3 separate regions of the Homo sapiens genome follow, and all the other regions are linked to region 3. The links are contacts of gene promoters, found by promoter capture Hi-C in human tissues and cell types (Jung and others, 2019). All regions are on one chromosome and are shown on one strand. Each heading gives the region's core, a stretch centred on a gene start or on the middle of the fragment in contact. The rest is flanking DNA. Distances are from core to core; before and after follow the strand shown.

What was found. Contacts are between HindIII fragments. The study calls those that stand out against the background at their distance.
Region 1: a contact is called between a fragment that was not itself captured here and the fragment with the promoter of F10 in region 3, in 1 of the 25 tissues and cell types used here (spleen).
Region 2: a fragment that was not itself captured here is called in contact with the fragment with the promoter of F10 in region 3 in 2 of the 25 tissues and cell types used here (dorsolateral prefrontal cortex and psoas muscle).

What each region holds. Positions count from the first base shown.
Region 1 is chr13:113,068,153-113,072,580 of GRCh38, forward strand. MCF2L (MCF.2 cell line derived transforming sequence like) reads left to right here. Exons shown (of 30, transcript NM_001112732.3): 9 at 1,907-2,021. Among named protein-coding and RNA genes, the nearest start is that of F7, 35 kb to the right of the region's middle. The HindIII fragment of the contact is 7,663 bases long and covers 1-4,428 here.
Region 2 is chr13:113,177,909-113,182,288 of GRCh38, forward strand. PCID2 (PCI domain containing 2) reads right to left here. Exons shown (of 14, transcript NM_001127202.4): 10 at 3,222-3,322; 11 at 2,250-2,323; 12 at 2,009-2,134; 13 at 1,058-1,181; 14 at 1-379. The coding sequence ends at 290. Among named protein-coding and RNA genes, the nearest start is that of PROZ, 21 kb to the left of the region's middle. The HindIII fragment of the contact is 4,578 bases long and covers 1-4,127 here.
Region 3 is chr13:113,119,911-113,124,227 of GRCh38, forward strand. It overlaps F10 (coagulation factor X), which reads left to right and starts at 2,889. Exons shown (of 8, transcript NM_000504.4): 1 at 2,889-3,015. The coding sequence starts at 2,946. F7 (coagulation factor VII) reads left to right here. Exons shown (of 8, transcript NM_019616.4): 8 at 1-775. The HindIII fragment of the contact is 14,274 bases long and covers 1-4,317 here.

The DNA.
Region 1 (4,428 bases), core at 1,392-3,891, 52 kb before region 3:
AGCCGAGATTGCACCTGGGTGGTGCACAGCTGGAGTGCCAGCTACTTGGAGGCAGAGGTCGCAGTGAGCCGAGATTGCACCTGGGTGGTGCACAGCTGGAGTCCCAGCTACGCGGAGGCAGAGGTCGCAGTGAGCCGAGATTGCACCTGGGTGGTGCAACGCTGGAGTGCCAGCTACTCGGAGGCAGAGGTCGCAGTGAGCCGAGATTGCACCTGGGTGGTGCACAGCTGGAGTGCCAGCTACTCGGAGGCAGAGGTCGCAGTGAGCCGAGATTGCACCTGGGTGGTGCACAGCTGGAGTGCCAGCTACTCGGAGGCAGAGGTCGCAGTGAGCCGAGATTGCACCTGGGTGGTGCACAGCTGGAGTCCCAGCTACTCGGAGGCAGAGGTCGCAGTGAGCCGAGATTGCACCTGGGTGGTGCACAGCTGGAGTCCCAGCTACGCGGAGGCAGAGGTCGCAGTGAGCCGAGATTGCACCTGGGTGGTGCACAGCTGGAGTGCCAGCTACTTGGAGGCAGAGGTCGCAGTGAGCCGAGATTGCACCTGGGTGGTGCACAGCTGGAGTCCCAGCTACGCGGAGGCAGAGGTCGCAGTGAGCCGAGATTGCACCTGGGTGGTGCAACGCTGGAGTGCCAGCTACTCGGAGGCAGAGGTCGCAGTGAGCCGAGATTGCACCTGGGTGGTGCACAGCTGGAGTGCCAGCTACTCGGAGGCAGAGGTCGCAGTGAGCCGAGATTGCACCTGGGTGGTGCACAGCTGGAGTCCCAGCTACGCGGAGGCAGAGGTCGCAGTGAGCCGAGATTGCACCTGGGTGGTGCACAGCTGGAGTCCCAGCTACGCGGAGGCAGAGGTCGCAGTGAGCCGAGATTGCACCTGGGTGGTGCACAGCTGGAGTGCCAGCTACTCGGAGGCAGAGGTCGCAGTGAGCCGAGATTGCACCTGGGTGGTGCACAGCTGGAGTGCCAGCTACGCGGAGGCAGAGGTCGCAGTGAGCCGAGATTGCACCTGGGTGGTGCACAGCTGGAGTCCCAGCTACGCGGAGGCAGAGGTCGCAGTGAGCCGAGATTGCACCTGGGTGGTGCACAGCTGGAGTGCCAGCTACTCGGAGGCAGAGGTCGCAGTGAGCCGAGATTGCACCTGGGTGGTGCACAGCTGGAGTCCCAGCTACGCAGAGGCAGAGGTCGCAGTGAGCCGAGATTGCACCTGGGTGGTGCACAGCTGGAGTGCCAGCTACGCGGAGGCAGAGGTCGCAGTGAGCCGAGATTGCACCTGGGTGGTGCACAGCTGGAGTCCCAGCTACTCGGAGGCAGAGGTCGCAGTGAGCCGAGATTGCACCTGGGTGGTGCACAGCTGGAGTCCCAGCTACGCGGAGGCAGAGGTCGCAGTGAGCCGAGATTGCACCTGGGTGGTGCACAGCTGGAGTCCCAGCTACGTGGAGGCAGAGGTCGCAGTGAGCCGAGATTGCACCTGGGTGGTGCACAGCTGGAGTCCCAGCTACGCGGAGGCAGAGGTTGCAGTGAGCCGAGACTGCACCACTGCACCCAGCCCAGGTGATGGAACCAGACCCTATCTCAAAAAATAAATTTTAAAAAAAGTTTTTAAACTTTTAAAAAATAAAAATGAACAAACTCGGCGGCTCAGCCTAGTCGCAGTGACCTAGAGGGAGAGAAGCAGGAAGGAAAGGACACAGCCCCTGATGCTTTCTCCAGGGCCTCCCTCCCATGCTGACGGCCCTGAGTGCCCGCGCCCGCAGATCCCAGGTTTAGGTGCAGGGAGTGAGCGGAGGCCAGGATCTCAGGAAGGCCCGGGGTGGAGATGAGCCTTGGGGTCGCTTGAACACCCACCGCGCTCCACGTTGCATGGGGCGCCGTGGGCCACACAGACGGTCAACTCCTCCTCTTTCCCAGGCTCCTGGCCCAGCTGAACGAAACCGAGGCTGCCTTCGATGAGTTCTGGGCAAAGCATCAGCAGAAACTGGAGCAGTGTCTGCAGCTCCGGCACTTTGAGCAGGGCTTCCGGGAGGTGAGTGGCCCTGGGTGGAGCCGGCAGCCGCCCTGATGCTCACGGGGCCTCCTGTGCCTGCGCCCTGGTCCCAGTGCCGGGAGCTGAGCCGTGCCACCCAGTTGACTTTGGCTTAATGCAGAAAAGTCTCCGCTTGCCAGGTGGAGCCTGTGAGATTAAGTCAGGCTGAGCCTTGAAATGCACGATTGATGACTGCGTCATTGTATAGAAAGGTGATTGAAAATCAGCTCACTGGGATGCACTTACACTGCATTATTCGTAAAGTAGCAGGAAGCCTTTGCTCTCCCTTCATAGTCATTTGCATGCCCTTTTATTCAACATGCATGTAGGATGTGCCTGCTGTGTGCCAGACTGTAGGACGGCGTCACAGTCATGAGGTGCACAGCGACACGGCCAGTGCAGCCAGACCCAGACGTCTCCCTCCTGCGGCCCTTCGTGGACTCACCCATGTCCCTCCTCAGCCCCCGGCAACCACTCATCTGTTTCCGTGGCTGTGCTTTTGCCATTTCAAGAATGTGACATTAATGAATCCCACAGAATGTCACTCTCGGGATTTGTTTGTTTGCTCAGCACAGCTCTCTGCAGACCCCCAGGTGCCGGTGGCTCACTCATTGTGTTCCCCGGTGTGGACGGACCACAGTTCTTTCAATCATTCACCTGTTGAAGGGTATCTGGGTTGTTTCCGGATTTGAGTATTACAGATAAAGCTGTTACAAACATTGATATACTGATGTTGGTGTAAATGTAAGTTTTCATTTCTTGGGCTTAAGTGCCCAGAATGTAATTGCAGGGTTATATAGTAGTTGCATGTTTCGTTTAAGAAAATGCCAAACGGTTCTCAGTGTATGAGAGACTAGTTGCTTCCCCTTTCCCCAGCACGTGGTGGGGTAGTGATTCTTCATATTATGCTCACATCCTGATGTGTGTGCCATCTCACGGTGGTTTTCTGTTGCGTTTCCCCAGTGTTGATGGTGCTAAACACCTTTCCACGTGCTTATTTGCCATTCGCATATCCTCTTTGGTAAAATGTCTTATTTCTGTTGCCCATTTTCTAACTGGATTGTTTGGTTTTGTGCTTTTGTTTTACGGTTTTGTTACATTTTGAGAATTCCTTATATACTGCAGATACTAGTTCTTTGCCACATATGTGGTTTGCGAATATTTTCTCCTGGTCTGTAACTTGTCTTTTCATCCTCTTTAACAGGGTTTTTCACGTAGCCAAAGCATTTAATTTTGACGAACTCCAATTTGTCAATTTCTCCTTTTAAGGTTTATACTTTTGGTCCTAGATTCCAAGTATATTCCCCTAAGCCTTTTTCCCCTCAAATTTCATAGTTTTACATTGAAGTCTATGACCTAATTTGAGCTAATTTTTGTATAAGGTATGAGAATTAGATCATGATTTGTTTTACCTCTGGATGTCCAATTGCTGTAGCACTGTTTGTTGAAAAGGCCCTTTCTTCCACTGGATTTCTTCTCCACCGTTGTCAAAGCTCTGGGCACATTTGTGTGGGTCTGTTCTGGAGACTCTCTATTCAATTATGTTTATCTACATACCTCTTCCTCTGTCTGTACCACAAGGTCTTAATTGCTGCAACTATATAATGTCTTGAAATCAAGTACACTCATTCTTCCCTCTTTGTTTTCTTTTTCAAAATTGTGTTAGCTTCTAGTTCTTTTGCCTTTTCATGGCAATTTTAAAATTATCTTGTCTACATATATGAAAACAAATTTCCTGGGGTTTTCATAGGAGTTGTGTTAAACCTATATTTTAAGGAGAAGAAATGTCTTTACTGTGTTGACTCTTCTAGTCAACAAACATGGTATTCCCAACATTTGATTTCTTTCATCAGTGTCGAGTAGTTCTCAGCACACAAGTTCAGTACGTATTTTGTTTGACTTACCTTTAATATTCCACTTTAAGAAGTCATCACAGTATTATATTTTTAATTTTGGCATTTATGTATTCATTGCTGCACATAGAAACACAATTGATTTTTGTATATTTATCTTGTCTCCTGCGACCTTGCTGAGCACACGTATTTGAGATGGTTTTTTGTGAAGTCCTTGACATTTTCCATATAGACCATCATGTCATGTGCAAATAAGGACAGTTTGGTTTCTTCCTTTTTGAAGATATGCCTTTTATTCTACCCCCCACCCACAACACCCTGCCCCACTGCGTACTGCCCCAACTAGAGCTTCCACCATATGATAAGAGTGGCGAGACTGGACATCTCTGCTTTGTCCCCAACCTTAGGAGGAAAGTGTTTAGTTTTTCACTGTCAGGTGTAATGTTAGTTGTAGGATTCTTGTAGATGCTCAATAAAACTATCTGGGCCTAGAGATTTCTTTGGGAGACTTTTAAAATTATGAATTCAGTGTCCTTAATAGTTACGCAACTATT
Region 2 (4,380 bases), core at 589-3,088, 57 kb after region 3:
GAGCCGAGCAGCCTTCACGCAAAGCCTCCTTCAAAGAAGTCTCACAAAGACTCCAGAACCAGCCGAGTCTGTGAAAAAGGAATTCCAGGTTTTCATCAGGCTGAAATTAGTTACAAATGAAGGAGATTAACTCGGGTGTGCTGAAAATCTCAGCCTCAGCATCCCTGGGAAAAGCGCCTCCAAGAGTTCCGGCTTCAGGGAGCCTTGTTGCAGTACCGGACCGGTCTCATCAGCACAACCAAAGTGGAAAGAAACAACTGCTCACCCGTCCTCGGGGCTCCGTGTACTTTCAACACACCGTGGACAGGGGAGGAAATGGGTTCTGCTTGCTGACCACCAGCTTCTGATGCTGATGCGATATGTAGCCTTTGACGTGTCCCTGCGGGGCAGAAAGGGAGGAATGCGTTTACATTTTTGGATCTGAGTCATGTCAAAGATGCTGGGTGATCTAATTAATTTGGCATTAGCATTCTTCCCCAAGAGCGGCACAGTTCAGTTCAGCGGGAAGACAATGAGTAAAAATAAATACAATCAACCCTCTATATCCACGGTGGGTTTCATATCCATGAATCTAACCAACTGTGGACTGAAAATATTTGGGGAAAAAAAATGCATCTGTAATGAACACGTACAGACGCTCTTCCCTTGCCGTGATTCCCTAAACAATACAGTACAACAGCTATCTACAGTGCACTGAGTATTTTAAGTAACCTAGAGATAATTTAAAGTATACAGGAGGACGTGCATAGCTCATATGCAAATACTACGTCCTATCAGTGACTGAAGCACCTGTGGATTTTGGTATCCGAGGGGGGTTGGAGAATCGACAGATACCGAGGGATGTACCGCCAGTAAAGAATATGCAAACATACAAGAGTATCCGTCCCCTCATGCTCCTAAGGCCCTGGTGAATGGTATTTCCTGGGCTAAAATTAGTTCTATCAAAAAAAAAGCAGAAGGCCTTTTAACAATTTTAACACCACCACACTGAAGCTTCAAATTCTGGGCTGAATCTTGCTGTGAGTAGCTGCTTAAATTAAAACCAGGACTCACACACCATGTATATCAAGTTAGCCAGAATACACTGAACTTCGTCAATGTCCACGTCCTCCACCTGCATGAACTTCAAGGCAACCAGAAAAGCATCCAGAGACAGCTGGTGTGTTTTCAGTAACAAATACCTGGAAGAGGGGAGGAGAAGGGCACTGTGGTTACCGACAGGATGCAATACTCCACAGCCAAGAAAAGGCACCTCTTAATAAGCCGGTGTTCTAAAGGAGTAAAAAAATTCCCACCTATTAGATAAACTCTAAACTACACTCTCAGAGCTATTAAATCTAATTTGACTTTTCAATCTTTAAAAAGTCACTAGTACAAACACAATTTTTAATTATTTTCTAAGTATTTCATTAAGGTTCGGTTTTTTTTTTCACATTTTAATCTCCCTGAAATCAGGAAGCACCTGACAATGGGCTGTGTCTCACAGACTCAGCGAAATAGGGTCCCTACTGTTTGTGACGTGCTACCCACAGCTCTATACAAAGTTGGCCTTTGCCTGAAGTTTACACAACTGAGATCCTGCTGGGACGAGGCCTCAGAAGACGTGTGAGGAAAGGAATGACGATCTCTGCATCTGCCTTTGTGACAGGCAGAAGTGGCTGGGAGGGCTACTTGGTCAGCACTAAGGGAGGGGAGTGAGTGGCGAGTCCTGTGTGCTCTGATGAAATGTGGTACCGCGGCTCTCAGGGCTGATGTTCTCAAGTTGTCTTCTCACATAGAACCTGCTTACCTCCCCCACAAGTCCAGGCACAGCTTGTGCTACTCACGTGTCTCGCGCAGGGTCCCCAGGAGGCAGTGGGCGGAGGCTTCATTTTATCCCACACAATGGAAGGAAGATAACGACCCCACCCACACGGTGGCCTTCTCTCTTAGACTGCAACAGCCCTGGATGTCTGACTGCTCTGCCGAGAGCCACACTGGGAGCCCAATGTGCCGGGGAAATGCTTACACTTTCTTAAAGAGGTTCCTGTAGGTGATGATCTTCAGCTTCTCCAGGATGAGGAAGATTCCGCAGCGAATGAAGAAGGCCTCGTGCTTCGCCAGCGCCTCGTGCAGCAGCAGCAGGTTGCCCTCGCTGGTGAGGGGGGAGGCGCGTCAGAAGGAGGGTGAGTTTCTCACAGAGCGTGCACGTCAACTCTCATCAGGCTTGCATTTTTAAAACCCCAAACAGGAAGGATGGCATACTCTACCTCACAGCTCTGGTTACTTCCGCAAACTGCATCAGGTGATACTTTTTCAGGAGCTCCACAGTGGGCATGTGACCCTAAGAGTCAATTTTCCAGAATGAAAATGCTTTCATTTTTGACAAAATTGTCCTTGATAAATATTCATATCAAGGAATTAAGTTTTAAGAAAATTGCAACCTGAGTTTCTTAGAATGTCCATGGATTAAACACATCATAGTACACTAGGAAAACAACACAGGTCTAGAAATCAGAACACCTGGGTACAACACACTTTTGTCATTCCATGACACGTGACCTTGATCTTGACCTTCTCACATTTCTTCGAATTTCTATAACAGGAGAGTGATAACTGAAGAAATGCTAGTATAAGCATGAGATGTAGGCATACGGAAGTAGCTTCCAGAAGAATCAGCTAAGCATTTGAAACTGGCTGTCAGTTAAATGGGGTGAGAAGTGAGGAGGGCAAGGCCACAGCAGCGCTTCTCCATCACAATCCATTCAGAGCTACAGAAGCTTTAGCCACCTGTGTGCAATGCTTTTCTCATTAGTCAATTAACTTACCAGTTATTTCAAGTATCAAAAATACATTTTAGTAACTAAATGAAATACCCACAGAGAGGGTGAAATGACATTTTTCTTTCTTGGTGAATCCACTGCTTTTAACTTAGGTTTTAAGGGAGGAATACAAATGATACGTACTTATTTTGTCACATGAACGTTAAACTCTTGAGTTAAATACTTTTAAGGGAAACAAGACACAGGGAGAGCTTTTCTAGAAGGACCTGGAGGCGTAAGGCATGAAGCTCTGGGTTTGGGCCACACACAATGCATGCGCCTTCTTTATTTTGGGGTGTGCTCATACACAGCTCAGGCTGTGATCAACTACAGACTGTCTGCTAGGTTTTAAAAAAACCTATCAGCTGTCAACTTTGTGAAAGCACCAGGATCTATAAACATGGAGTAATAATCACTCACCAATAGCATTTTTACTGGAAGCAAATAGATCAGAATCATCCTTTTGTTCTTCTGACTAGAACGGTGACAATGCTCAAAGGCAAATGACAGGTACTCCTCAGCTGCAAAGAAGGCAGAGCCAGCACGCATGAGACCAACGCACCTGCTTCAGGCCCCTTCCTGCTCCATTTTCTACCACTGTCTCCTGATTTAAAAGGCAAAAGCCCCCTCCCTTTATTATCTCAAAAAATATCATCCCAGTTTCATTTCTGTGATCAATGACTTTCCTTAAGTAAAATCCATACCCCCAAATTCAACAGGAACTGCCTGGGAAGTCCTACTTAACAGAGGAAAACTGAAGAAAATAACTTTCACAGAGATTCTGATTTGCCTAAGGTCAGCTGGCAAACCATTATGATAACATTTTAAAAGTCTGACCCTGCTCAGATGATTTCTACATTCATGAAAAATATAAAGACATATTTAAAAATGTACCTCCACAATACATTTTAATCACCCATAATTAAACAATGAAAATAACTTAGTAAAACACCATCCTCCAGCTTAACATATAATTAGTGATCATATATCTTCCATTTTAAATGACCACATGCTTTAAAAAATTAACTTATTATTACTAACACACAACATATTAATTCTGTCCTGAGAGCAATATTAAAAAACAGATTTGAATTTAATAGATTTCAAAATACAAAAGTAATTCTATTTGTCAAGATTAATCCCACAAACTGCACGACAGGCCTGCAAAGAGTTCAGCACATGCTAACAAGGAACTCTCAGAACAGGCAGGCAGGAGCTGAGCCTTGTCCTGAGGCTGGAAAGCTGAAGGGTCAGGGGTTTCTGGACAATGATTCCACATTCTCCCTAGGTGAAGAGAAGAGGCTTCACTAAGGCTGAGTTTGGGTCAAGAATTAGGAAAGTGAGATGTTCCTGTTTATGTAAGTTCTTCCTGAACAGTGATATTAAGTCCCAAATATAAGAGAACAGAGATGCTCAGAGCTGCAGAGGCCCTCCCTTATGCAGAATGGGTCACCAGAAGCAGCAGGCCCTGGGGTCTGGGTCGAGGCCTAGGGAACCCACACTGAGACCACACACTGCCTCTGCTCCTAAACTATGTGGCCACATTGGCACAAAAAACATCCAGTCTTGCACAGTGAGC
Region 3 (4,317 bases), core at 1,639-4,138:
CTCCCCCAAATGTATTTCTCCCTTCGCTGGGTGCCGGGCTGCACAGACTATTCCCCACCTGCTTCCCAGCTTCACAATAAACGGCTGCGTCTCCTCCGCACACCTGTGGTGCCTGCCACCCACTGGGTTGCCCATGATTCATTTTTGGAGCCCCCGGTGCTCATCCTCTGAGATGCTCTTTTCTTTCACAATTTTCAACATCACTGAAATGAACCCTCACATGGAAGCTATTTTTTAAAAACAAAAGCTGTTTGATAGATGTTTGAGGCTGTAGCTCCCAGGATCCTGTGGAATTGGATGTTCTCTCCCTGCCACAGCCCTTGTCAATGATATTTCACAGAGACCCTGGGAGCACCTGCTCAAGAGTCAGGGACACACGCATCACTAAATGCAAGTTCCCAGGCCCTGGCTGCAGTGGGAGGACCTGGCAAGCTGCACTCTTGCTGAGTCCCCAGGGTGGTGGAAGAAGAATGAGAAACACATGAACAGAGAAATGGGGAGGTGACAAACAGTGCCCCCACTCAGACTCCGGCAAGCACGGCTCAGAGAGTGGACTCGATGCCATCCCTGCAGGGCCGTCCTGGGCACCACTGGCACTCACAGCAGCAAGGTGGGCACCATTGGCACTCACAGCAGCAAGGCAGGCACCAGCAACCCACCTCGGGGGCACTCAGGCATCATCTACTTCAGAGCAGACAGGGTCTATGAACTACAGCCGTGGGCTGCTTCCAAGGCACCCTGCTCTTGTAAATAAAGTTTTATGGGAACACACCCATATTAGTGTCCATGGAGTGGCCGTGGCAGAGACGTCCAGCCGGACAGACCAGCTGACCCGCCAAGCCCAGCATGGTTAGTGTCAGGACCTCTGCTGAAGATGCTTGCTGACCCTGGCCAGACCCCGGTTCCTAATGCCCCCTAAACGGGACGGGAGCCAGTGGCGGGCCCTGATCCAGGTCAGAGCTGGCTCTGCTTTCTCTTTTGTCCGAGTGACCATGCCTCAGTTTCCTCATGTGTAAAACAGGAGCCCACCGTGATGCTTATGGTGGGATGAGATCAGCATGGATGGAACAAGGCCCTGGAAGGGCCCATGCCATGGTCATCGACAGCAAAGCCACTCTGCAGACAGATGCTTCAGTGAATTGGTAGAAAATTCTGCAACCAGAATGCCCGGGGCTCCTGAGGGCCTAAGCCCAGCCCAGGGTTCTGGAAGCCACTCTGACTTCTTGGGAGTGGAAGTTGGCAGGACTCTTCCTGGGAAGAAGCGGAGGGTGGGGATGAGAGGACAGTTCAGGAGCCCACCCAGACCCACAGGAGGAAACTAGGGGAGTCATGCGGGGTCCTGGTGGAGCGCCAGCCTCCCTTCCTGCCAATGGGAAATGCAGGCGCCCACCTCATGGTGCTGCCGGAGGAGGGGGCCCGGGACTCCCCAGAGGCTTCGCTGAAGGGCCTGGGCGCCCCCAAAGGCTACATGTTTCATATGGGACGTGCCACCTGCCACGGCTCAGCTCCAGCTTTCTGTGAGTGGCGAGATAGAATACGGGGAGGCCACTGGCCATGGGCCTGGGACAGGGTGGGATGAGGCGGCAGGCTTGGGCCACCAAAGCCAGCATCGCCACCCAGCATTGATGACAAAGACTGCGTGTCTGCCATGAGCATCCTGCTGTTGGTGCACACACCGCATTGGTCTCTCCATACAAACATGCCTAGAGGCGATGTCAGAGGGTGGAGACCAGGAGAGGCAGGAGTCAGACATCTGGTGCCACCAGGAAGGCCCTTCTCAGAGGACCAGGCTGTGCGTGGTGCCCGCCGTGGGAGGCCAGCCTGGCGTTGGCATCCAGCATCATCAGTTTGTGCAGTCGGGTGGGGCTCAGTGAGTGCCTCCTGTGTGCCAGGCACAATGACGCACAATGTGTGCACACCAGGCTCATGTGCAGGTGGCTGCGAGACAGGGCGACCCATCAAGGCAGATGCACCATGAGGCAGTGGCCAGTGCTGTGGGTGTTAGGGGCATTGCTCCCCGGCCACTACGGCATAGCAGGCAGTGATCGCCACACTGGCCAAGCTTTAGACCATTTATTCCAGAGACCCCAGAGGCAAAAAGCCCGGCTGCACCTCCCAGTGACTCCCACAGCCATTGAGCAGAGACACTCAGGACCTTGTGATGGGAGGTTTCTGCACTGGAGAACGAGCCCAGAAGCCCTCTCAGCCTCGGAACAGTGTGGCCAGTGGTGGGCAGGTCAGGAGGGGCTTCAGACACAGCCTGTCCCTCCAGATGGTCACGGGAAGGTCACTCCCCACAGAAGTACGTTTTGGGGCCATGCGGGCACAGAAGGTTTGGGGGTGGGTGGGGCAGGTGCCAGCCTGGCCTGTGGGAGGCCATGGTGCAGATGCCAAGCCCCCCCCGTGACATGAGACCACCTGATACCACCCAGAGAGTGGCTGTGAGCGGAAGGGCCCGCCCAGAAACAAGCAGGGCCTTGGGGCAGAAGTCCTGGGCTCAGATCCCACGCTCACTGCCAGCGGCCTCGGCTCAGGCTTCTGCGCTCTCTAAACTTAGTTTTCTCTTCTGGAAAAATGATGGGGAAAATGATATTTGTATGTGAGGACTGAGAGTTAAATGTAAACATCTGGAAACTACAAAATGAGCACGAAATGATGTTTTTATTCTTAGAACAGAAAGTCCCCACACCCGCGGCCCTGGTGACTGATGAGGATGAGGTTCTGCGGGGCCTCTCTGGCCGCCCAGCTCTGCCTGGGGAAGGTGGGGCCAGAGTGGATGTGTTCCCAGCGTGGTCACTCCCCTGCCTCGCCAGCAGGTCTCGGCTCCAATCAGGAGGCCTAAGCCAAGTGATAAGCAGCCAGACAACAGCCATCCCAGCTGGGGCGTGGACTTTGCTCCAGCAGCCTGTCCCAGTGAGGACAGGGACACAGTACTCGGCCACACCATGGGGCGCCCACTGCACCTCGTCCTGCTCAGTGCCTCCCTGGCTGGCCTCCTGCTGCTCGGGGAAAGTCGTAAGTGCCCCTCGCCCTTCAGACCCAAAAGCAGCGCCAGGGAGCAGGGAGGGGCGGCAGTTGGGGAAACCCTCTCATCTCTGCAGCCTGGACGGTGGGTGCCTTGAGTGCTGCCAGAGGCTGGGCTCGGATGGCTGGGCTTGGCCTTTCCAGCCAACGGCATCCTCAAGGCCAGCTGTGGCTCCCTGGGGCTGAGAGTCAGACGGGCGGATCAGAGGTCACAGAGACAAAAACACAAGGACAGAGTCAGAGAGAGAAAGGGAGAGGGAAGGAGAAACGGAGACACAGTGAGATGGGAGGCCAAGAGGCAGAGACAGAGGTAGAAAGACGGAGACAGAGAGAGAGGGAGGGGTTGGGGCAGGCAGAGACAGGACAGTTAGCCATCTGCCACCACAGGGAGGCACAGGACGAGGGGCACAGCAGAGGAGCTCCCAGGGAGGAGGAGGCTGAGCCGAGCCAGTGCCACCACTCTCGGACTGGCTCCGTCGGGGAAGGAGCTGCCTAATGCACAGCTGGACAGGTGGGGGCAGCAGGGCTGTCCAGGACCCCCGGGTCTGTCCAAAAGCAGAGGCCCAGACAGGACAGAAGCCAGGCAAGCCTGGGGACAGCGGAGGAAGAGGAGGCCCCTCTGGTGGGGACACGAGAGACAGGGACCCTAGACTTGTTTGCATCCTGGACAAAGTGGACAGGCAGGGGCACCAAGGGGACCCAGGCCTGGGAAGGGAATGTGTGAGGGAGAGACGGAGCAGGGGGAGACCCTCGTGGGGTGGAAAGGGGAGACCCCTGGGAAGGCTGAGTGGATCCTCAGTGCATCACTGACCTAAACGGCCCCTCCGCCTGGTGACTTGGAGCTCCAGTCACATCACACGGGGGTCTTCTCCATCCCACCCTCAACCCCCTGCCCTCCCCAGCCTCTGTCCCCTGAGCCACATCTTCCTGTCTCCCACGCGGAACGGGACTCCCGTCTTCATGGGGTACTGTGTGGCTCCAACTCGCCCAGCCTTCTTCCTCCCCCTCAGGCCACACTGCCCCCTGCAGGAGCCCACTGTGATGCTTGTGGTGGGATGAGATCAGCGTGGGTGGAACAAGGCCCTGGAAGGACCCATGCCATCATCATCGACAGCAAAGCTACTCTGCAAACAGACAGATGCTTCCGCGAATTGGTAGAAAATTCTGCAGCCGGAATGCTCTAGGATCCTGAGGCCCTAAGCCCGGCCCGGGGCTCCCGAGGCCCTAAGCCCGGCCCGGGACTCTGGAAGCTGCTCTGGCTTATTGGGAATGGAAGTTGGCAGGACTCCTCTT